Regions from separate parts of the Homo sapiens genome. Here regions 2, 3, 4, 5 and 6 are each linked to region 1. Evidence: promoter capture Hi-C in 16 types of primary human blood cells and fetal thymus (Javierre and others, 2016). All regions are on one chromosome and are shown on one strand. The core of a region is centred on a gene start or on the middle of the fragment in contact, and the rest is flanking DNA. Distances in the headings are between cores, read along the strand shown. Region 1 holds the start of RTF2 (replication termination factor 2). Region 2 overlaps SPO11 (SPO11 initiator of meiotic double strand breaks). Region 3 overlaps RAE1 (ribonucleic acid export 1). Region 4 holds the start of LOC105372688 (a long non-coding RNA gene). Region 5 has its middle 25 kb from the start of RBM38-AS1. Region 6 overlaps RBM38 (RNA binding motif protein 38).

Region 1 (3,209 bases), core at 673-3,172:
ATTCTAATAGTACTAACCAGTTTTAGTATCTGCCAAAACTAGGCTTTTCACCCCTTTCTCAATGAATCTGTACTTTCTTTTGGTTTACTGAGGAAATGTACTCATATATTGAGTGTGCCAAAGACTCTTCTAGGCACTGATGATACAATGTGGAATAAAAGTCCTGGCCGGGCTTGGTGGCTCACGGCTGTAATCCCAGCACTTTGGGAGGCCGAGGCAGGTGGATCACCTGAGATCAGGAGTTTGAGACCAGCCTGGCCATCACGGTGAAGCCCCGTCTCTACTAAAAATACAAAAATTAGCCCAGCATGGTGGCGGGCGCCTGTAATCTCAGCGACTGGGGAGGCTGAAGCAGGAGAATCGCTTTGATCCTGGGAGGTTGAGGTTGCAGTGAGCCGAGATCACATCACTGCACTCCAGTCTGGGCAACAGATCGAGACTCTGTCTAAAACAAAACAAAACAAAATGAAGTCCCTACCCTCATAGAGCTTACAGTTATTGTGGTTAGCATAGAAATAAATCATAAATCAATCAGAGACCAACTAATTAAAGGGATTATTTTTTAAAATTCTCATTAATCACAGTAACAAGTACCCCAAGCTTACATATAGCCCTTGAAGTTTCCACATCCACGTATTTTCTGGGCAACTCTTCCCAAGTAAAAAATATTTTCAGCGTTTTTATGTTTCACGTAGGTCAATAGGGTAATATCCAATCATAAAGATCTGCCTTCTTGGCAATGGAGAAATTTTCCCATCATATATATGTACAAATACATACATACATACATACATACATATTAATGACAGAGTCTTGCTCTGTTGCCTAGGCTGGAGTGCAGTGGCATAATCATAAGCTCACTGCAACCTTGAATTCCTGGGCTCAGGCAATCCTTCCTACCCCCTCAGCCTCCGGAGCCGCTAGGACTACAAAAGCTTACCACAACGCCTGGCTAATTTTTCTTTTTCTTTCAAGATGGTGTCTCACCATGTTGTCCAGGCTGACCTGGAACTCCTGGGCTCAGGTGCTCCTCCCGTCTCGGCCTCCCAAAGTGCTGGGATTATAGGCACTTTCCCATAATATTTATAATAATTAAAGGAACAAACAGAGAGATAGACAATCGCCTAAGAGCAGACAGACAATCATGAATTTTTAGCAAGGGATTTGTGTTCTTATAGATAAAATACAGCCTGACTCTTGGAACGGGCATGGCAACATCAGTGTATATTTTATAAGAACTATTATATCGTCTATTAATGATACTTGATTGTTAATAAAATTTTTTTAGCCTGGGCTTCAGGAAACTGTGAATGAAATACACACACGCACAAACTGTATGCAAAATTTCACACACATGCCATCTACAATATGCATGGCAACACCAGAAAGTTCCAGGCCTTAAGGGAGGGTCTTACTTCCTAGAATCTGTTGTAACATCACTTCACAAGATTTGTTGTGAGTGCTTGAGTCACAGTTGGCGCTCAAGAAAGATGCGTTCTCCTTTTAAACACAAAAATGTCCATTGATACAGCAGATTCCGTTCATAGGCATCCTTAATCGCAGAAACAGGAGGGCGGCCCTTTTCCTCAAGGCGCTCTCAGTCCAGGGATGTGCCCGCTCCGCAGCCACACAAGCTGGCGTGGGATAGGGTCAAAGAGCGGTGGATGCGCACGGGCCGCCCACGCCCTCGCTGCCCTCCCGGAGCGTGGGCGAGTGATTCCGATTGTGCAGCAGAAACCCAGGGTCTCACGGGAACGAGGAAACCCGCCCACGCCCAGCCTCCAAGCGACGCTCTCCATGACAACCGGCACTTGGTAACGGCCTCGCCCTGCCCCGCTACGCCGCGCCTAGCGTGCCGCCCCGCCCCGCCCCGCTACGCCACGACCAGCGTGCTGCGTCACGGCGGTGCGCCGGAAGTGGCTGCGGATTTCGCCGGAAATCCCGGAAGTGACAGCTTTGGGGGTTTGCTGCTGGCTCTGACTCCCGTCCTGCGATGGGTTGCGACGGGGGAACAATCCCCAAGAGGCATGAACTGGTGAAGGGGCCGAAGAAGGTTGAGAAGGTCAGTGATGTGGGCCGGCTCTTGGCGACCGGGGGTGGTGGGAATTTGACGACCCCAGAAAACGAGAGGAAGTAAGAAGGGGGAGCCAGCGGAGTTCCAGACCTGGCTGCGGTCTTTTATTCCATTCAGAGGACTCAAAATTAACAACAGTATTAAGAGTGGACATTCAATGGGTGCTGACTATTGCCATTCACTGGACAGTAATCTTAACAGGGGGTATCTCATGTAATTATCACAATAGCCCTATAGCTACATACTGTTGTCCTCATTTTCAGACATGGAAGTTGAGGCTCAAAAGGAGAAATTTGCAAAGCTAGTAAATGGCAGAGCCAGGATTTGAACCCTACCTGCGACTAGTAGCAATAATACAAATACCTAGTGTATACTGAGTTTTGTATACACTAACTTCATTTGCTCAGAGAAGCCTTCCCAAACTGTTCCCTTACCACATCCTTTTATAAACTGTCTTAGCCTGCACACGGCTGTACGTGGTTGATTTGTATCAAGTCTTCCCCGCTAGACGGTAAGTTCCTGATAGCAGAGGCTGTACCCTTTTTTTCTCTGCAACTAGCATGGTTCCTGGCACACTAAATATTTCGAATAAACAAATGAGTGAATAATCCCTGATCTCACAAGTAATCGAGGAAATTATAATAATTTCTTTGCTACTGACGGGGACATTGAGTCCAGGGATATTAAGGTGACTAAGATCACACAGCTGGTAGGTAGTGAAGCCAGGATTCCCATCCACTTATTTGGGATTTCAAAGTTAGCACAAGTAATTACTTTTTAATGATAAAATATTTGTAAAGCACCTAGTAGAGACTTCTTTACAAAAATATTTGTAAAGCACACGTGGAGACTTCATGTATTCTGATTCAGGAGCTGGAGAGCTTGTTTAAAAGGTAAACCCCTTAAGTCACTATTGTATTTGAAGCATTCCAGTGGCTTCCCATCACATTAAGAATAAAATCTCGTCAGACCCTTGAGCAGACCTTGCCTATGTTTCTGACCTCATCTTCTGCCCCTCTCCACCTCTTTCATACTGTTCTAGCTAAACAGGCCTCTTGTTCTTCAACCTGGAGTGTGAGTTCATCAATCTGAAATACTCTTCACTGAGATTGTCACATGATGAGTTTCTTTACTT
Region 2 (3,037 bases), core at 358-2,857, 870 kb after region 1:
AGCCTAACTTTTAAATTATTAATAAGAGTATAATTGTAACCATTTTATTCTACTGAAGTTAAAATTCTTAATTTTCATCTTCCTTTTAGGGAAAGGGAGTTCCTGATCTAAACACAAGACTTTTAGTCAAGAAACTGTGGGATACATTTCATGTTCCTGTTTTCACTCTTGTAGATGCTGATCCACATGGTAATTTATCACTGGACTATTTACAACAATAGTCATAACTAAATCATATTTGTTGTTGTGTTTTCTTCCTCTTTTTTTTTTTTTCTTTTTGAGATTGAGTCCTGCTCTGTCACCCAGGAGTGCAATGGCGCGATCTTGGCTCACTGCAACCTCCACCTCCTGGGTTCAAGTGATTCTCCTGCCTCAGCCTCCTGAGTAGCTGGAACTATAGGCACATGCCACCATGCCTGGCTAATTTTTTATATTTTTAGTAGAGACGGGGTTTTACCATGTTGGCCAGGCTGGTCTCGAACTCCTGACCTCAGGTAATCTGCCCACCTCGGCATCCCAAAGTGCTGGGATTACAGGCAGGAACCACCGTGCCCAGCCTGTAGTTGTGTTTTCTACTCTCGGGACACTTATGAAACATTTTAAAAGAAAATGATTACATTAAAATTTGGTCTATAATTATTTGACACAATTTATCGTTACTTTGTCATATTAAACTGAGAATGATAAATTTTTCACTGGTGATGTCCACAAAATTAAAATTATAGATAGATAAAATTTGAGAGTGCAAATTAACCTGTAATATGTAAGGAGACTAATTTTATAGTTAACTTTCTTTTAACAGGCATAGAAATAATGTGCATCTATAAGTATGGATCTATGGTAAGTATAGAAAAGCAGTTTTCCTTTTTTATTATTTAGACATTTTATATTCATTGAGGTGATTTCTGCATTTATTAATCACCCCCAAGCAGGCTGAGAGTGCCCAAAGTGTACCTGAGGGCCTAGTATCCTATTCTAGGAGCAATCTGTGTGTCGGTGGCTGTGACTCCAGCTCCCAGTATGACCAGTGCAAACACAGATGACAGAGTGGGATTAGCTGTGGGCAAGCAGCATTATTATCCTGCACTCTCTTGGCATACTGAAGGAACTGTGGGGCTCTGGGGTGACAACAACGCTGTCTGATCACCAAATATACTCGAAATATTATATAGAGCCTTGAATTCTGACTTTTCTAATCCCTTTTCTCCCACCATAAGGAGAAATGGAAACAATAAATGTCACCACCAGTGTCTACAATTACCATATACCAGTGGTCTCACAGTGTGGTCCTAAGCCAGGAGCATCAGCATCATCTGGAAGATTCTTAGAAATGCAAATCTCAGTCCCCATCCAGAACTACTGAGCCAAAATCTCTAGGGGTGGGATCCTCCAAGCATTCTGATGCATGGTGAAATTTATAGCAGATGAAAAGGATGGTGGAGCAGGGTGTAAGATGGGGAATCATGAACAATAAGAAATGTAGGTCAGAGGGCTTCATTTATAGTTTGCTTTAGAAAATTAATACAGAAACACTATATAGAAGTTGTGGTTGTTGTTTTGTTGCTGTTTTGAGACAGGGTCTCACTCTGTCATCCAGGCTGGAGTGCGGTGGTGCAGTGACAGCTCACTGCAACCTTGGACTTTTGAGCTCAAGCCATCCTCCCGCCTTGGTCTCCCAAAGTACTGGGATTACAAGCATGAGCCACCGCACTTAACCCAGAGAAGTTTTAACACCTTCACTAAAAGCCCAGCTTAGCATAGCCCCTGATGGTTTTCTTACTTCTGTGGGCTCTGGGCATGTGAAGCCAGCTTTAGTACTTGTCCTTCTTAATAAGTGAAAAATTTGACTGAAAAACAAGAATGCTAGTTTTCTACAATTTAGCCTCACCTAATATACTTTTGTTCTTTATTTTAGTCTATGTCTTTTGAAGCTCATCATCTCACAGTTCCAGCTATTAGATGGCTTGGTCTTCTCCCTTCTGATCTTAAAAGGTTAGATAGTATAGCAGAACTAGGATATTTAAAATGACAGTTCATTATCATATGTAACAATAAGCCTAAAAAGTCACTACAAGGGAAAGCTCTTAATGTTTTTTATTTATATTGTCCACGATGACTTATGATTATGTAATTATGAATTAAATTCATTAATGTTTCTGTTTCAACTACTAAAATATTTAACACATGAATTTGGTTAATGTGTTACACTTTCAGCTAGCTAAAACTTTCTGTTTTACTTTTATGGTTAAGACATTTTATACACTTTTTATACTTAAAAGTACAATACATTGTAGGCCGGGCACATGGTGGCTGACGCCTGTAATCCCAGCACTTTGGGAGGCCAAGGTGGGCGGATCACTTGAGGCCAGGAGTTTGAGACCAGCCAGGGCAACGTGACAAAACCCTGTCTCTACTAAAAATGCAAACATTAGCTGGGTGTGGTGGTGGTGTATGCCTGTAATCCCAGCTACCGGGAAGGCTGAGGCCCAAGAATTGCTTGAACCTGGGAGACGGCAGTTGCAGTGAGCCACGATCGCACCACTGCACTCCAGCCTGGGTGACAGAGCTTGACTCTGTCTCCAAAAAAAAAAAAGTACAATATAGTAAATCCAATTAAATTGTAACCATTGACAACATCATTTGCCATATGAATCAATTTTTGTCATAGATTTAAATTTTTAACTTCAAAAGAAAAATATCATTTTAAGAGTATTAAAATTTGGGAACTTCAAGTTTGGCAAGTTTATTATATATGTTCATTATAGAAAAAAATATTAAGCAACAAGTTAAATATCACCTACAGATCAGCAGCCTTACCTTTGTAGATTTTTTTTCTGTGCATAGCCATAACTTTTTCACAAAACTGAGATCATACTCTGTTATTTTATAATCTGCTTTTTTTAAAACACAACAAAATAATGTGATCACTTTTCCATGTCAATAAAGTACATTTCTTATTTTAGCATCTTTTGTTGCTGAGTTTTAACTCTAGATGTGCTAGTGTTTATTCAGCCATTCCCTCATAGCCATTTAAGTG
Region 3 (3,457 bases), core at 632-3,131, 910 kb after region 1:
AGGAACTCACAGGTTCCTACTCACAGACTCTCTCAGTAGGACATTGATGACACACTGGTACCAACCACATCCTTAGGCCTTTCTCTGAGGACTGAAGTTCTGCTTCGCATTTGACTTTATCTTTGTTGTTTTATTTCTCTGAGAGATTATATGTTTCCAGTATTGTAGCACAGGACTTCACCTAGAAAAAGCACCTACAAATGCTAACTTTCTTTTGAATAATAAGATCATTGGTGTTTTTTGCTCTCTTTAGGGACATGAATTTTATAATCCCCAGAAAAAAAATTACATTTTCCTGCGTAATGCAGCCGAAGAGCTAAAGCCCAGGAATAAGAAGTAGTGGCTGGAGACTCTGGCTCAGCCAGAGTTGTTTCTCTCCACTCTGCCTCATCTCTGTACGAATTTGGGTCCCAGCCTTGTTGGGTTGTCAGCCATGGACATGGATTTCAACCCCTGGAGAAAACGATGTCATTGTTCAGCAGCTGAGAGCCCAGGCGTCCGCGGCGACTTGCCGTCTCTCCATTCCACTGCCTGTTGCAGAGTTTTTCTGTAACTAAGGGGGTTGAGGTTATTGTAGACGTTAGATTGCGGGCACCGCCAGGGATTTTGCAGCGCTTCAGTGTACGTGTTAGAGAATATTGGAAAAGCGTCTGTGAGCCCCGTGCTGTATTTTGTAATAAAGTCTTTTGCAGATTGCTTCCCGAGCTTCCTTTGTCCTTTTCTCCCCTTGCCCACCCCGTAACCTCAGGAACATGCGTCCTGCCCAGCATCAGCGTGGGGTTTTGAGTTGAGATTTCAGACACCCTCTGGGAAATGCGGCAACCTTAGGGGAAAGGGAGTCCCCAGCTGCGCTCACTTCTGCTGCGCGGAACGGCAGCCTCTGTGAGCCCTGGTGGGCAGAGTTTGAATGTGTTTTTCCTTGCTTCCCTCATTCCCATCTTCAAAATCCCCAGTGCTTTCTGGCCTTGCTGCTCAGATTTCCGAGTGACTCAAATGGGGACTGTTACTTGTGCTGGGTGACAGGCCATTTGTGGGTAACCTCCTAAGGCCCAAGTGGGTGACACTTGCGTGACTTTCAAGTTAGAACCCAAGCCCCCTGCATGGGAATTGCCCTGAACTCTTACCCACCCCGGTCCCCTGCATGGGAATTGCCCTGAACCCTCAGTAGTGGTTGTTTGGCTGTTCTTTTGTATTTTGTGTAATTTAAAATTCCTGGTTGGTAAGTATTCAAAATGAAATTCAGCTGGGCTGAGAAAAAGTGTGACTTTTGGGTCTGTCACTGTATTTCTCACCTGTGATCTCAAATGCTTCTTAGGCCTTTCTGTTTGGACTAATGTGTGAAGTCTGACTTGCTGAGTGTAAAATTCTAGTATCGATAGTGTTGTAAGATGTGTTTGCCTACTCATAAAAAACAATGAAAATAAAATTTTCTACTGGAAGAGACCACCTGCACTCAGTGGTTTAAATTCTTTGGTAGGTCACAATGAATTCAGACCCACCCACTCTCCAGCCCTGTTTTTTTAGCCCGAAAACTTATTTTTTAGAGATAAAAAAGCAGGTGCACTAGAAAAATATCTGAATTTTCAGGTTAACGGTTTCCAGCTCATTTTCCTCTTCACTTTATGAATCAAGCCTGTGGTCTTATCAACGTGGGGAAGATCTAGCTAGCATAAGACTGCTGTGAGGGGAGATTGAAGCTTGATTATCTCAGCAGCCAACTTTCATATTCAGCTTTAGCTTAGCCAGAGTTTCATTGTTTTTACCACCCCTAGTGACGGGCTAGGGTGGAAAATGAGTCTAAATTGCAGGCCTTTTAGAGTGCGCTTTCCCAGGATGGGACCTTGCCACCTCCCCAAGGGGATAGTTTTTGTAATTGGCAAATTTAAAACATTTGCATAAATCCAAGATTGGACTGGGCTGTCAGAACCTGGGAGGGAGCTCTGCTGCCACCAGGATGTGAACCCTAGATGAGGCCCAGGCTCATTTCTCTGCTGCCCAGGACCTAAAGCATAAAAGCACACTACATGTTTGCTAATGAGGATCTAGGAAGTATTCACTGAGATCGTTAAGCTTCTTCAAATATTTATGTTCATGTTTCCTAAAATGCATATGAAGTCTTAGAGGAACTCTTCATCTTAAACTTCAGCATCTTTGCAGGCACCTGTAAGTTGCATGCAGTAGGTGCTCATTAAGTATTCATAAGTTTGATGGCATCTTCTACTTCAAAGAGATACTAGTGTAATCTTGGCTCTTTGTTTCACTAAATGTCAAGCCGTCCTGCCATTAAATATTGACTGCACACCCTGTTAAGAGCTGCTTTCGTTGAAAGTAAAGTATATAAACCTCATGGAGAAGACAAATTGTGTTCTTTCACTTAATTTTTTCCAACATATGAAAATTTTAAAACATCCACAAAAGTGGAAAGGGTTTTGGCAGTGAACATACACCTGCCATCTGCCTGCCACCAGGATGCCACCATGAACACTCACCTTTCCCTTGATTTTCTGCTTGGTTTTGCCTGGCTTTCCTCCCAGTCTTTGTTGTAACATCGCTTCCTTGGTTCCTCACTGTGGGAACAGGGCCTCATGGGAAGAACTTTGTGTAAAGATGCTGCTGCAACAAGGTGGCAGGGATTTAGGGTGGGCACAGGAAGGTGCACTCGGTTCCTGTCATGTTTGGTTGGAAGCAGGATGGAGCTGTGGTGGGTTTGTGTGAGACACCTGTCTGTGAGCCTGTGCTCACGTGTGTGCACGTGTGCATGTGAGCCTGCCTGTGAAAACCCTCTCAGTCAAAGGGGCCAGCTGAACCCGCCTGCCTCACCCCGTTTTCGGGTTAGCTTCACACCAGAGATCCTCTGGCAGAGGAAGAACAAAGGATGCGGCAAGTGCCTGGCCTGCTGGCAGTGAGCTTGCTGACTTTCACCAGAAAATCACCACCAAGAGAAGGTAAACAGCAAGGGCCAGGCGTGGTGGCTCACGCCTGGAGTCTCAGCACTTTGGGAGGCCAAGGCGGGAGGATCACTTGAGGCCAGGAGTTCCAGACCAGCCTGGGCAACAAAGCAAGACCCTGTCTCAAAGAAATTTTATTGAGTCATGTAGGAAATGTTTGTTTTTCTCATTCAACCAAAATTTTCGTCTCTTTTGGAGGAGAGACTCTAAAACATGAACTAAACACATGTTCTTGAACACTCGGGAGTGCCTAAGCCAGCCTTTTCCGAATTCACTCATGACCCATTCGTAGGTTGTGAAATGAACGTAGTTGTTGCAGTGAGCGTTTCTTTTAGTGGAGCCACACAAAATCACAGAATCTATGTATGTATGAGATATTTTCATATCCTGGGGTGGGATTCTTCTCTGTGCCTGTCACTTTTTGTATGGTTTAGGATGAGTTCTTAGCTTCGGTGACCTCAAGTACTAAGCCATAACTGCACTTGAGGTCTCCCCAAAATGGGAGGGAT
Region 4 (2,979 bases), core at 215-2,714, 990 kb after region 1:
TTAGTGGCTTCAACAACACTCATTCATTATCTGTTTTAATGGGTCATGAGTCTGGCACGTTCTAGCTGGGTCCACTGCCCAGGGCCTGACAAGGCTGCAGTCAAGGTGGTGGCTGGGCTGCATTCTCATTTGGAGGCTCAACTGGGGAAAATCCACTTTCAAGCTCCCTCTGGTTGATGGCAGGATTCATTTCCCTGCAGCCATAGGACTGAGGTCCCTGTTGTCTGTCCAGCTGTTGGCTGGGACTGCTGTCGGTTTCTAGAGGCTACTCACAGGTCCTTATCACGTGATCCCTCCTGGGGCCCTTTCACACGTCCAATCTCTGACTTCAAGAAAGGCTCAGTTCCTTTTAAGAGCTCATCTGCTTAAGCCAGGCCCACCCAGAACCATCTCCCTTTTGAGGAACTGCAAGTCAACTAAGTAGTAATTTTCTCATGGCATGATACGCCACCATATCTACAGTCCTGCCCACATTTCAGGGAAGGGGGTTATACAGGGAGTCTACAGCAGGGGCTGGGATTCTGGGCCATCTTAGAATTCTGCCTCCCACAAGGGGATGGGGGCCTTTCTGTGCTGTGAAGGAAGACAAGGCTTCTCTCTGGAAGGATTCCCAGCCACAGTGCCTCAGAAAGAAAAGTTAGCAAGAGGCATGGGCCCCTTTCCAAAGCCTTCCCTCAGCCAGCTTTGGGAATTTCTCCAAGTCTTGGGCACTGTGTTTGGTAATCCAGTGTGGATTCAGCTCCTGTGTGGCTGTAACCTTTGCAAGAGAGGGAGATAGCACACTGCTAAGGGCTCTTTCTGTCTTGAGTGACACAAAACCAGACTCAACGGGTTTAAGAAAAACGATTTGTGTGTAACTGACATGGTCTGGGCGCTTCCTGCCTTCAGGCACAGATGGATCCAGGGGCTCAAATGCTGTCATCAGGACTTGATTTTTCTCCATCTCTTACTCTCCCACCTTTTTCAGTCAGCCCCTGGCAGCCCAGGGCTTACTTCCTCCCACCTCCCCTTCCAATAGAAAGTCAAATTCTTTCTTCCCAATAGTGGCGCAGAATTAACTCCTGTTGGACTGATGTGAGTCCTGTTCCCATCCCTAAGCCAATCACTGAGTCCTGCGGGATGAAATAATCTGATTGGCCAGGACTGAGTCACATGTCTACCTTGGGCTTTGAGAGTGGGGTTTTACCTCCCCAGACTACAGGAATTCAAGCTGTGGTGGTGGGGGGGGGGCCCTCTCAGAAAATCCTGAGTGCTGTTTCCAGAAAATGTGGCAATGCATACTGGGGGTGGGGGTGGCAGAAACAACAGTTGTCTTCCCCATCTGGCGAGAAAGTGGAGTGGTGTAAGCACCGCCCCATCCCACACCATCCAGGGGCCAGAAGCGACTGAGGGGACTATGAAGCCAGTGGGGCTGCGGGTGGAGGGTTGGGGGTCGGGGAGAGGGGAGGGGGAACTAGTAGCCGCTCCCTGAGATGGGTGAATAGAGGGAGGGGCAGCAGAAATGCAACGGTCTCAGGGGAAGAAGGAGACTTCCCAAGACTGGGAAGGGAAGGGGAGAGGAGGTGAGGGGGGTCTATGCCTGGGGAGACCGTTTCCCTAGGGCACTGTCGCCCAGCAGCACTGGCCTCCCCCAGTCTCAGGGACTCCAGGTGCTGCCAAGTTCTCCAGCCTCAGCTCAGCCAGAGGCTGCAGATCCACCCTGTCTAGGGGTCAGCAGCCTCTGACAATGAGCACTTAAAGGTAGACAGTGTGAACTGAAGACCAGCCAGCTCCTGGAATGTTCGTTCCACCTGGGGCAAGACCCTGAGTCTTTACATTACCTGGAGGCAGTGGGGCAGGACTGGCTGTGTGATTTGTAAGGCCCAGGGCAGAATGAAAACGGGGAGCCTCTGGTTCAGAACAATGGAGGACTTCCAGGCCGGGGCAGCAGAGCCTCACAGCAAGGCGGCACTCTGAGCTCAGGGCCTGTGGGGCTGCCCGGCACTTCCCTGTGGGAAATCAAGTTTCATTTGACTTAGAAAAACAGTTAAGTGATGCCTCCTGCCCTCACTGGGGTGTCCTTTTTACCCCGGGCACTTCTCCTGGGCTCCTGCGCTCCTGGCGCTGAGGTAAGAGGAGACACACGCAACCTTGCTGGCCTGGCCAGGAGGAGCCCACAGCCGTCATTTCAGACAGAGGAACCTGAGCCGGACGTGAACCTGGGTTCAGACACTGCCGTTGCTGTGGGTGAGCGGCTGTTCTGCCTGTGGAGCAGCATCGGGTGGGTGGTTGCCTGGCACCGTGACTGTTAGGAGAACTTCTGCATGGCCGGGGTGTACTTTATGGGGGGTGCGGCCCCCTGTAATCGCTCTGCAGTCTGGGCACCCTGTGATGGGGGCCTGGTCCTCATCTGCGGCTGCCTCGGCTGGCTCCGATGTGAGGTGAGGAGTTAACCCCTGCCCTAGGCTCCCTTGCTCCTCTTGCCACCCGCCTCCCCACCACTAGCCCCTGACTGCCTCCCTGCTGTCACCAGGGTCCCTTTGCTTTGTGCTGGGGGGACCTGCCACCTCCCCCTCCCCTATGTGCCCCATCTGAAGGCGTCCCGTGGGTCCCCAGGTGTAATCGTGCAGGAGCCTTCCCCAGCGCACATCCCTGAGTCTGCGGGCCAGGGCCTGTCCTCCTGGCCGCCATTGGCCAGAGGCGTCCCAGGGCTGTCCTGGGAATGTCTCTGGAACAGCAGGTCCTTCCAGTGCTGGGTTCCATCCTGCAGCGTGGTTAATGGGCATGTAGAAGGCACAATGTGCCCAGCTGCTGCCCAGGACAGAGTGGACATGGCCTGCCTGGGAGCTGATTCTCTTCTGGGAATGCGGGATGCAGAGAAGTACCATGGGGAACGGCGGACAGCATGCTGGCCGCAGGCCACTGACTAGCTTATCTCCTGTAGCTGCCTGGTGACAATTTGACTTTTCCCACAGTTCCTCCCACTGCCCTTCTTGACAA
Region 5 (3,365 bases), core at 227-2,726, 950 kb after region 1:
CTTGTGCCAGGCCCTGTGCCCACCACTCAGCAGCATGGGCTCATCAAATCCACACAACAACCCACTTTATAGATGCAGACACTGAGGCTCAGGCTAGTCAGGGAGTTTTCCCAGGGTCACACAGTGAGTAGCTGGCAGAGCTGGGCTCCAAACCCCGGGGGATCTGATGCCAAAGCTGCCCTCCTAACCTGCAGCTGGGGTCTCCATGGGAGGAGACAATGACCTGTATTCTGGTGTGGCCACAGGGAGAAAGGCCACAGAGCCACTAAGAATGATACTGTGGAAGTCTATTTCCCGACACGGAGAGATGGCCACAGAGTACGGTGGAAGGAAAAAAGCCACCATGAACAGAAGCTTCTCACAATGCTGGGCCCAGAGTTCCTCACAGCAGCAGTGACACCCGTGCTCTCCAGTTTGCTCCAGTCCCCACCAATCTTTACTGTGCCTCTCATTGAACCCTGGCAGGCATTTTAACTTGTCGGTTAGGAGTCACAGGAGAGCCAAGTAGAGGAGGAAGCAGGAACCGTGTACACACGTGCTTTATCCCCCTTGACGTCTTTCTAGAGGACAGTTATGCAATTATGTGACAGATGGAGGGAGGGAGGGACTGAAGAAAGGGAAAAAGAATGGGTGGAGGAATGGATAGAGATGTATGGATGGAGGGTGAATGGGAGGATAGATGGATATATGCATGGAGAAATGGTTGGGGAATGGATGGAGGGAGGGAGGGTGAATGGGAGGATTGATGGACAGATGAATGGAGAAACGGATAGAGGGAAGGAGTGTGAATGGGAGGATTGATGGATACATGAATGGAGAAATGGATGGGGAATGGATGGAGGGAGGGAGGGTGATTGGGAGGATTGATGGAAGATGAAATGGAGGGAGGGAGGGAGTGATGGATAAAGGAAGGGATGGATGGGGGGATGAATGGAAAGATAGAGATATCTTCAACCTTGGTCCCTACTCCAGCAGAGTTAGCTTTGCCTCAGGGGATGGTCTGGTACAAGGGTTAATCATTCAAGTGTTTGGAATCAGACCTGAATGTGAATCTGAGTTTCTTTCCTGACAAGCTGTGTGACCTTAGGTAAGTCACTCACCTTCTCTGATCTTCAGTTTCCTCATTATTAGAAAGGAAATAATAATACTAGATAATAATAATAATAGAATAATAATCCACATTCTATGGATTTGCCTATTCTGGACATTTCTTAAGAATGTCCATGCAATATGTGATCTTGGGGGTTTGGCTTCTTTTATTTTGCATCAGGTTTTCAAAGTTCATCCATGTTGTGGCATGTGCCAGCCCTTCTACTCCAGCAGAGTTAGCTTTGCCTCAGGGGATGATCTAGCACAAGGGTTAATAATTCAAGTGTTTGGAATCAGACCTGAATGTGAATCTGAGTTTCTTTCCTGACAAGCTGTGTGACCTTAGGTAAGTCACTCACCTTCTCTGATCCTCAGTTTCCTCATTAATAGAAAGGAAATAATAATACTTTGTAGTGCCTCCTAGAACACGAAGTAGAACAAGCACTTAGGGCCAGGTTTGAGGGAGAAGTTGAAGGTGGGCCCACCTTTATTAGGATCCGTGCTGCTGCTACGGTCCTATCAACCCTGCCCTGAGAAAGTGCCCTCTCTGCTTCCGGGCCCTTTGTGTTGAGCTGGTTAATCGCTCGGGAGACTCGATGGGTTCCCCACCTCCCCACCCCCAGCTCTGAGGATCTTGGGATCTCGCTGGACTGGTGTTAATACCAATAGCATCCCCTTGCTCACTGCCTCCAACCTCGACCGGACTCTCAGACCCCGCCCAAAGCCACAGCCGCATCTTCGTGACCATGACCTGAGAAGGCTCCTTGCAGCCCTGCCGCAGAGCAATCCTGTTATCAGGGCTTCCAGCCCTGGCTGCACCTGAGAACTGAGCTGCAGGAGCTGCTAAAAGCAATGCTGCCTGTGCCCCACCCGGAACCCAGTCTTTGGGAGAAGCGCCTGGCATGAGTATTTTTTTAAGCGCTTCTGACTGATACTAAGGCAAAGCCTGGCCTGAGAATAAAAGAAGCTCTGTGTTTAGTTTCTTTTCTTTTTAAAATGTTTCTATTTTTTCTTTACTTTTCTGTTTAGTTTCTTCGGCAGTGAAAACAGACTCTGCTGTCTGTAGTTGGATGAAGAATTCACGTTTGTTTTCCTTTCAGGGTTTTGATGGGTCAGTGTAAAATATGTTTTTTGTTAATCCCCTTGGGTTACAGCTGGTTAGAGTAGGGGGTTGGGAGCCCCTTCCTCTTACTTTACAGGGCTCCAAAATCCTCCGCAGAGTACAATGTGGGGCTGAATTTTATTATAAGGTAAACTGGTTTAAAAGAATAACACTAAACACAAATCAAAGGAAAGAGATGAGCTACCACTTCGCATTCACTAGGATGGGATGAAAAAGTCAGAGAAACTCAGGTGCTGGCGAGGATGTGGGGGAACTGGACCCCCACACACACTGCTGCTGGGAATGGAAAATAGAAAAAACAAGCTGGCAGGTTCTTCAAATGATTAAACAGAGAGAGCTACCATGTGACCCAGAGAGTCCACTCCTCAAAAAACCCAAGAGAAATAAAAGCTTCCACACCAAAACTTGGACACAAAGGTTCTTTTGTTTGTTTGTTTGTTTGTTTGTTTTATACTTTAAGTTCTAGGGTACGTGTGCACAATGTGCAGGTTTGTTACATATGTATACATGTGCCGTGTTGGTTTGCTGCACCCATTAACTTGTCATTTACATTAGGTATCTCTCCTAATGCTATCCCTCCCTCAGCACCCCAGCCCCCAACAGGTCCCGGTGTGTGTGATGTTCCCTGCCCTGTGTCCAAGCGTTCTTACTGTTTGGTTCCCACCTATGAGTGAGAACATGCGATGTTTGGTTTTCTGTCCTTGTGATAGTTTGCTCAGAATGATGGTCTCCAGCTTCATCCATGCCCCTGCAAAGGACATGAACTCATCCTTTTTTATGCCTGCATAGTATTCCATGGTGTATATGTGCCACATTTTCTTAATCCAGTCTATCATTGATGGACATTTGGGTTGGTTCCAAGTCTTTGCTATTGTGAATAGTGCCACAATAAACATACGTGTGCATGTGTCTTTATAGTAGCATGATTTATAATCCTTTGGGTGTATACCCAGTAATGGGATGGCTGGGTCAAATGGTACTTCTAGCTCTAGATCCTTGAGGAATCGCCACACTGTCTTCCACAATGGCTGAACTAATTTACACTTCCACCAACAGTGTAAAAGCATTCCTGTTTCTCCACATCCTCTCCAGCATCTGTTGTTTCCTGACTTTTTAATGATCGCCATTCTAACTGGTGTGAGATGGTGTCTCA
Region 6 (3,012 bases), core at 35-2,534, 930 kb after region 1:
TGCTTCTGGCTGCTGGGTTGAGCCTGGACTGCCGAGGGTATTGTGGTGGTTGGAGGCCCTTAGAGGATGCCCAGTAATCCAGGCATGAGACGAGGGTGCTGCCTGCACCAGCGGCCCTGGTGAGATACAGTGAGATTCTGGGTGTCTATTTTAAAGAACCTGGGAAAGAAAGAGGAGTCCAAGAAGATTCTGGAGCTTTGGGCCTTTGAAATGGGAGATGGGCTTGGCCCTGACTGGGGTGGAGGCAGCTGTGCAGTACAGTTTTGGGGAGAAGGTCAGGAGTTGGAGTTTGGGCCGGTTCAGGTGGAGATGCTGTTCCGGGCCTGGCATTGCCCCACAGAGAGGGCGTTCGACCTGTGTCCTGTGGCTGGCTGCCCCACAGAACTTGAATGTCCCTAGACCTCCCGGCCCTCCCCCTCACAAGTCACTGGGGATTCCCGGGAGGCAGGGCCATGGCCTGGCTTCCTGCCTGCCAGGCGCCTCGGGGACCTTCCCACACCCAGCCAGGCGGGAGTCAGAACCCTAAGAGCTGCGGTCCGTCTCTGCCGAGGTGGGGCAAGGCCCCTGGAGAGCAGGGAAAGTGAAATGGGCTCATTTGCCTTTTTCGTTTTTATTTTCAGAGGCGACTTTATGTTCAGAAAATGAGTCCTCCTGGGCCGTGGTCAGTTCTTTTCGCTGCGAGTTCTGCTTTGAGTGTGGGCAGCATGTGTCCCCAGCACCATCTGTACTTCTCTCTCCCGCCCACCACGGGGTTCTCAGACTCTGCCGGAGGCCCAAGCCCTCTGTCTTGGGGGCAATCTGTTGGACTCTGCAGCATCCTTAGTTTACAGATGGGGAAACAGAGGCCGGAGGGGCTGAGTGATGGTCCATGCGACTTGGACAGGCATGGCCAGGATCCGGGCTTGGGGCTCTTCCTGCCCTTGGACCCCTGAGTCTCTGTGGACAGAGTCAGCTGGGGTGCTCTTGACTGTGTGCTGACCCTGGGTGTGTTGGGGTGCAAATGCTGCCTGGGCCACGTGTGAACGGGAAGGGAGGCAGGCACCTCAGATTTCCAGTCTGGACCAGGCTCGGGGTCCCCCTGTCCTCTCCTGGGCTGTGGCAGAGCCAGCTCCTCCTGCATGCCCAACCCTCCCGGCATGGCCTGGCCTTTCCAGCCCTAATGGTGGCCCGTTTCAGTGGCTCCGTGATTTGGGGGTTTGGTGTTGCCCAGGCTCCGGCACTAGAGGGAAGCAGAGAACCCCTGAGTCATCCTTCCGCAGACACCCCGGACCCCAGCTAGGTGCCTGTGCCCAGTGTCCAGCGTTGCAGTGGGGCTTGGGTGGCATGTGGGGGGTCTGTCCCACCCATTCCTGTGGTTTCTTCCTTGGCTCTGCCTGGACTTTGCACACGTGGTGGGATTAATTCTCTGGTAAACAGATCCGCCTCTGATTGGTGCAAGACCCTTCTCTGGGGTCTTGGTGGGAGGATAGAAGTTTTCTGCAGAGGATGAGGAGGCACAGACGCCCGGTTGTTCTGAGGCCGGAACTTGGAAGGAAACTGGAAGGGAAGGAGGCTCCTGCCCTCTCCTTTGAGGTTACAGCTGGGCTGTGGCTCTGCAACCCTGGGGAGCGCGTGGGACTCCAGCAGCGGCCGTACAGAGGGCCGATTCCAAAGTGGCTTCTAGAGGAGGGAGCAAGTGCCGTGTGCCCAAAGAGGCCGGTGGGCCCTGGCCAAACAGGAGCAGCCCTGATGAGCATTGGGTCCCCCGACCTTTGGGCTCCTACCTGACTGCGCCTGGCCGCTGGTCTGTTTTGCTCACCAAGGGTTCTTGGCTGCTGCCCCCTGACCTGGGGCTGAAAGTCCTAGGAGAGGGAGGGCCTCTGTCCCTCCCAGCATTCCTCAGGCCCAAGGAGGCGTCGATGCTGCTGAAGTCTCTGGGGTGCACAGAAGCAATAGATCCTCACAGCAGCCCCCTGGGGCGTGTGGTTCCCCAGAGGCAGTGATGAGGTCACCCGGGGCCGCCAGGCACCTGGTCGGGGAGCAGAGGCTGGCGGGCTGTGCCTGTCTAGCTGTGACTTGCTGGGTGGAGCCGTGCCTGCCTGTCCCTCCAGCCTGCCCAGCCCTGGCTGCTCAAGGCTGAACTGCTTTCTCTGCCTTCTTGGGGCAGGGACTCTTGGCCTGGGAAGCAGAGGCCATTCCACGGGGGGGCTCTTTTGCCTCCCAGCTACCTGCAAAGCCGGGGCCTGCCTCAGATGCTCAGCACTGGGCACCTGCTGTGCTGGGGCACTTGGGACGCAGCAGCTGAGACCCTGCTCTTGTGGGGAAGACATTGTGCAAGGTAGATGATGAAGGGGCTTCCGATCATAAGGAAACAGAGCCGCCTGGGTGGACCCCTGAGGGGTGAGCTTTGAGCTGTGGGAAGAAGCAAGTGCATAGGTGCGAAGGTCCTGTGGTGGGAAGGAGTCGAATCTGGGAACAGAAGGAGCCCAGGGCAGTGGGAGTGTGGCCAGGGAGGGCGCAGTGCAAGTGGAGATGAGTTAGAAGAGGTAGGTTGAGGCCTAATAACGCAGGAAGCCACAAGGGAGCAGTTTGGGTTTTCTTCTGGGTACAGTGGGAGGCAGCTGGAGGGTTCTGCTTCTGGAGGTGATGGGGTGTTGATGTTTTCGTTTGTTTGTTTTTTGAAACGGAGTCTCGCTCTGTCTCCAGGCTGGAGTGCAGTATCTTGATCTCAGCTCACTGCAGCCTCCGCCTCCCGGGTTCAAGCCATTCTCCTGCCTCGGCCTCCTGAGTAGCTGGGATTACAGGCACGCACCACCACGCCCAGCTATTTTTGTATTTTTAGTAGAGATGGGGTTTCACCGTGTTGGCCAGGATGGTCTCAATCTCCTGACCTCATGATCCGCCCGCCTCGGCCTCCCTAAGTGCTGGGATTCCAGGCGTGGGTCTTGATGTTTTTAAGACAGCTCCAACTGCTGCTGGGTGAAGGATTCAGGGATGGAGGCAGGTCTCCACCACCACCAAGGCAGGGCCACG

Evidence for each region. The method cuts DNA at HindIII sites, captures the fragments that hold promoters and counts their contacts. A CHiCAGO score of 5 or more calls a contact.
Region 2: a contact is called between a fragment that was not itself captured here and the fragment with the promoter of RTF2 in region 1, in 2 of 17 cell types (naive CD8 T cells and naive CD4 T cells). The highest score is 5.8, in naive CD8 T cells.
Region 3: a contact is called between a fragment that was not itself captured here and the fragment with the promoter of RTF2 in region 1, in 5 of 17 cell types (naive CD8 T cells, M2 macrophages, total CD4 T cells and 2 more). The highest score is 8.7, in naive CD8 T cells.
Region 4: a fragment that was not itself captured here is called in contact with the fragment with the promoter of RTF2 in region 1 in 1 of 17 cell types (neutrophils); the score reaches 5.9 in neutrophils.
Region 5: a contact is called between a fragment that was not itself captured here and the fragment with the promoter of RTF2 in region 1, in 1 of 17 cell types (naive CD8 T cells). The highest score is 5.8, in naive CD8 T cells.
Region 6: a contact is called between a fragment that was not itself captured here and the fragment with the promoter of RTF2 in region 1, in 2 of 17 cell types (neutrophils and naive CD8 T cells). The highest score is 5.8, in neutrophils.

The regions. Positions count from the first base shown.
Region 1 is chr20:56,466,705-56,469,913 of GRCh38, forward strand. RTF2 (replication termination factor 2) reads left to right here and starts at 1,923. Exons shown (of 9, transcript NM_016407.5): 1 at 1,923-2,062. The coding sequence starts at 1,994. The HindIII fragment of the contact is 9,363 bases long and covers 934-3,209 here.
Region 2 is chr20:57,338,187-57,341,223 of GRCh38, forward strand. SPO11 (SPO11 initiator of meiotic double strand breaks) reads left to right here. Exons shown (of 13, transcript NM_012444.3): 9 at 90-189; 10 at 803-840; 11 at 1,916-1,992. Among named protein-coding and RNA genes, the nearest start is that of SPO11, 9.9 kb to the left of the region's middle. The HindIII fragment of the contact is 7,175 bases long and covers 1-3,037 here.
Region 3 is chr20:57,377,760-57,381,216 of GRCh38, forward strand. It overlaps RAE1 (ribonucleic acid export 1), which reads left to right. Exons shown (of 12, transcript NM_003610.4): 12 at 254-1,443. The coding sequence ends at 340. LOC124904938 (a long non-coding RNA gene) reads right to left here. Exons shown (of 2, transcript XR_007067671.1): 1 at 1-3,457. Among named protein-coding and RNA genes, the nearest start is that of RBM38, 12 kb to the right of the region's middle. The HindIII fragment of the contact is 373 bases long and covers 1,696-2,068 here.
Region 4 is chr20:57,458,281-57,461,259 of GRCh38, forward strand. LOC105372688 (a long non-coding RNA gene) reads left to right here and starts at 1,980. Exons shown (of 3, transcript XR_936911.3): 1 at 1,980-2,420. RefSeq lists an enhancer at 2,833-2,979. The HindIII fragment of the contact is 5,537 bases long and covers 1-2,979 here.
Region 5 is chr20:57,416,713-57,420,077 of GRCh38, forward strand. No RefSeq gene overlaps it. Among named protein-coding and RNA genes, the nearest start is that of RBM38-AS1, 25 kb to the left of the region's middle. The HindIII fragment of the contact is 2,248 bases long and covers 353-2,600 here.
Region 6 is chr20:57,399,308-57,402,319 of GRCh38, forward strand. All of the region lies in intron 3 of RBM38 (RNA binding motif protein 38), which reads left to right. Among named protein-coding and RNA genes, the nearest start is that of RBM38-AS1, 7.8 kb to the left of the region's middle. RefSeq lists enhancers at 659-1,522, 1,505-1,604. The HindIII fragment of the contact is 5,250 bases long and covers 1-3,012 here.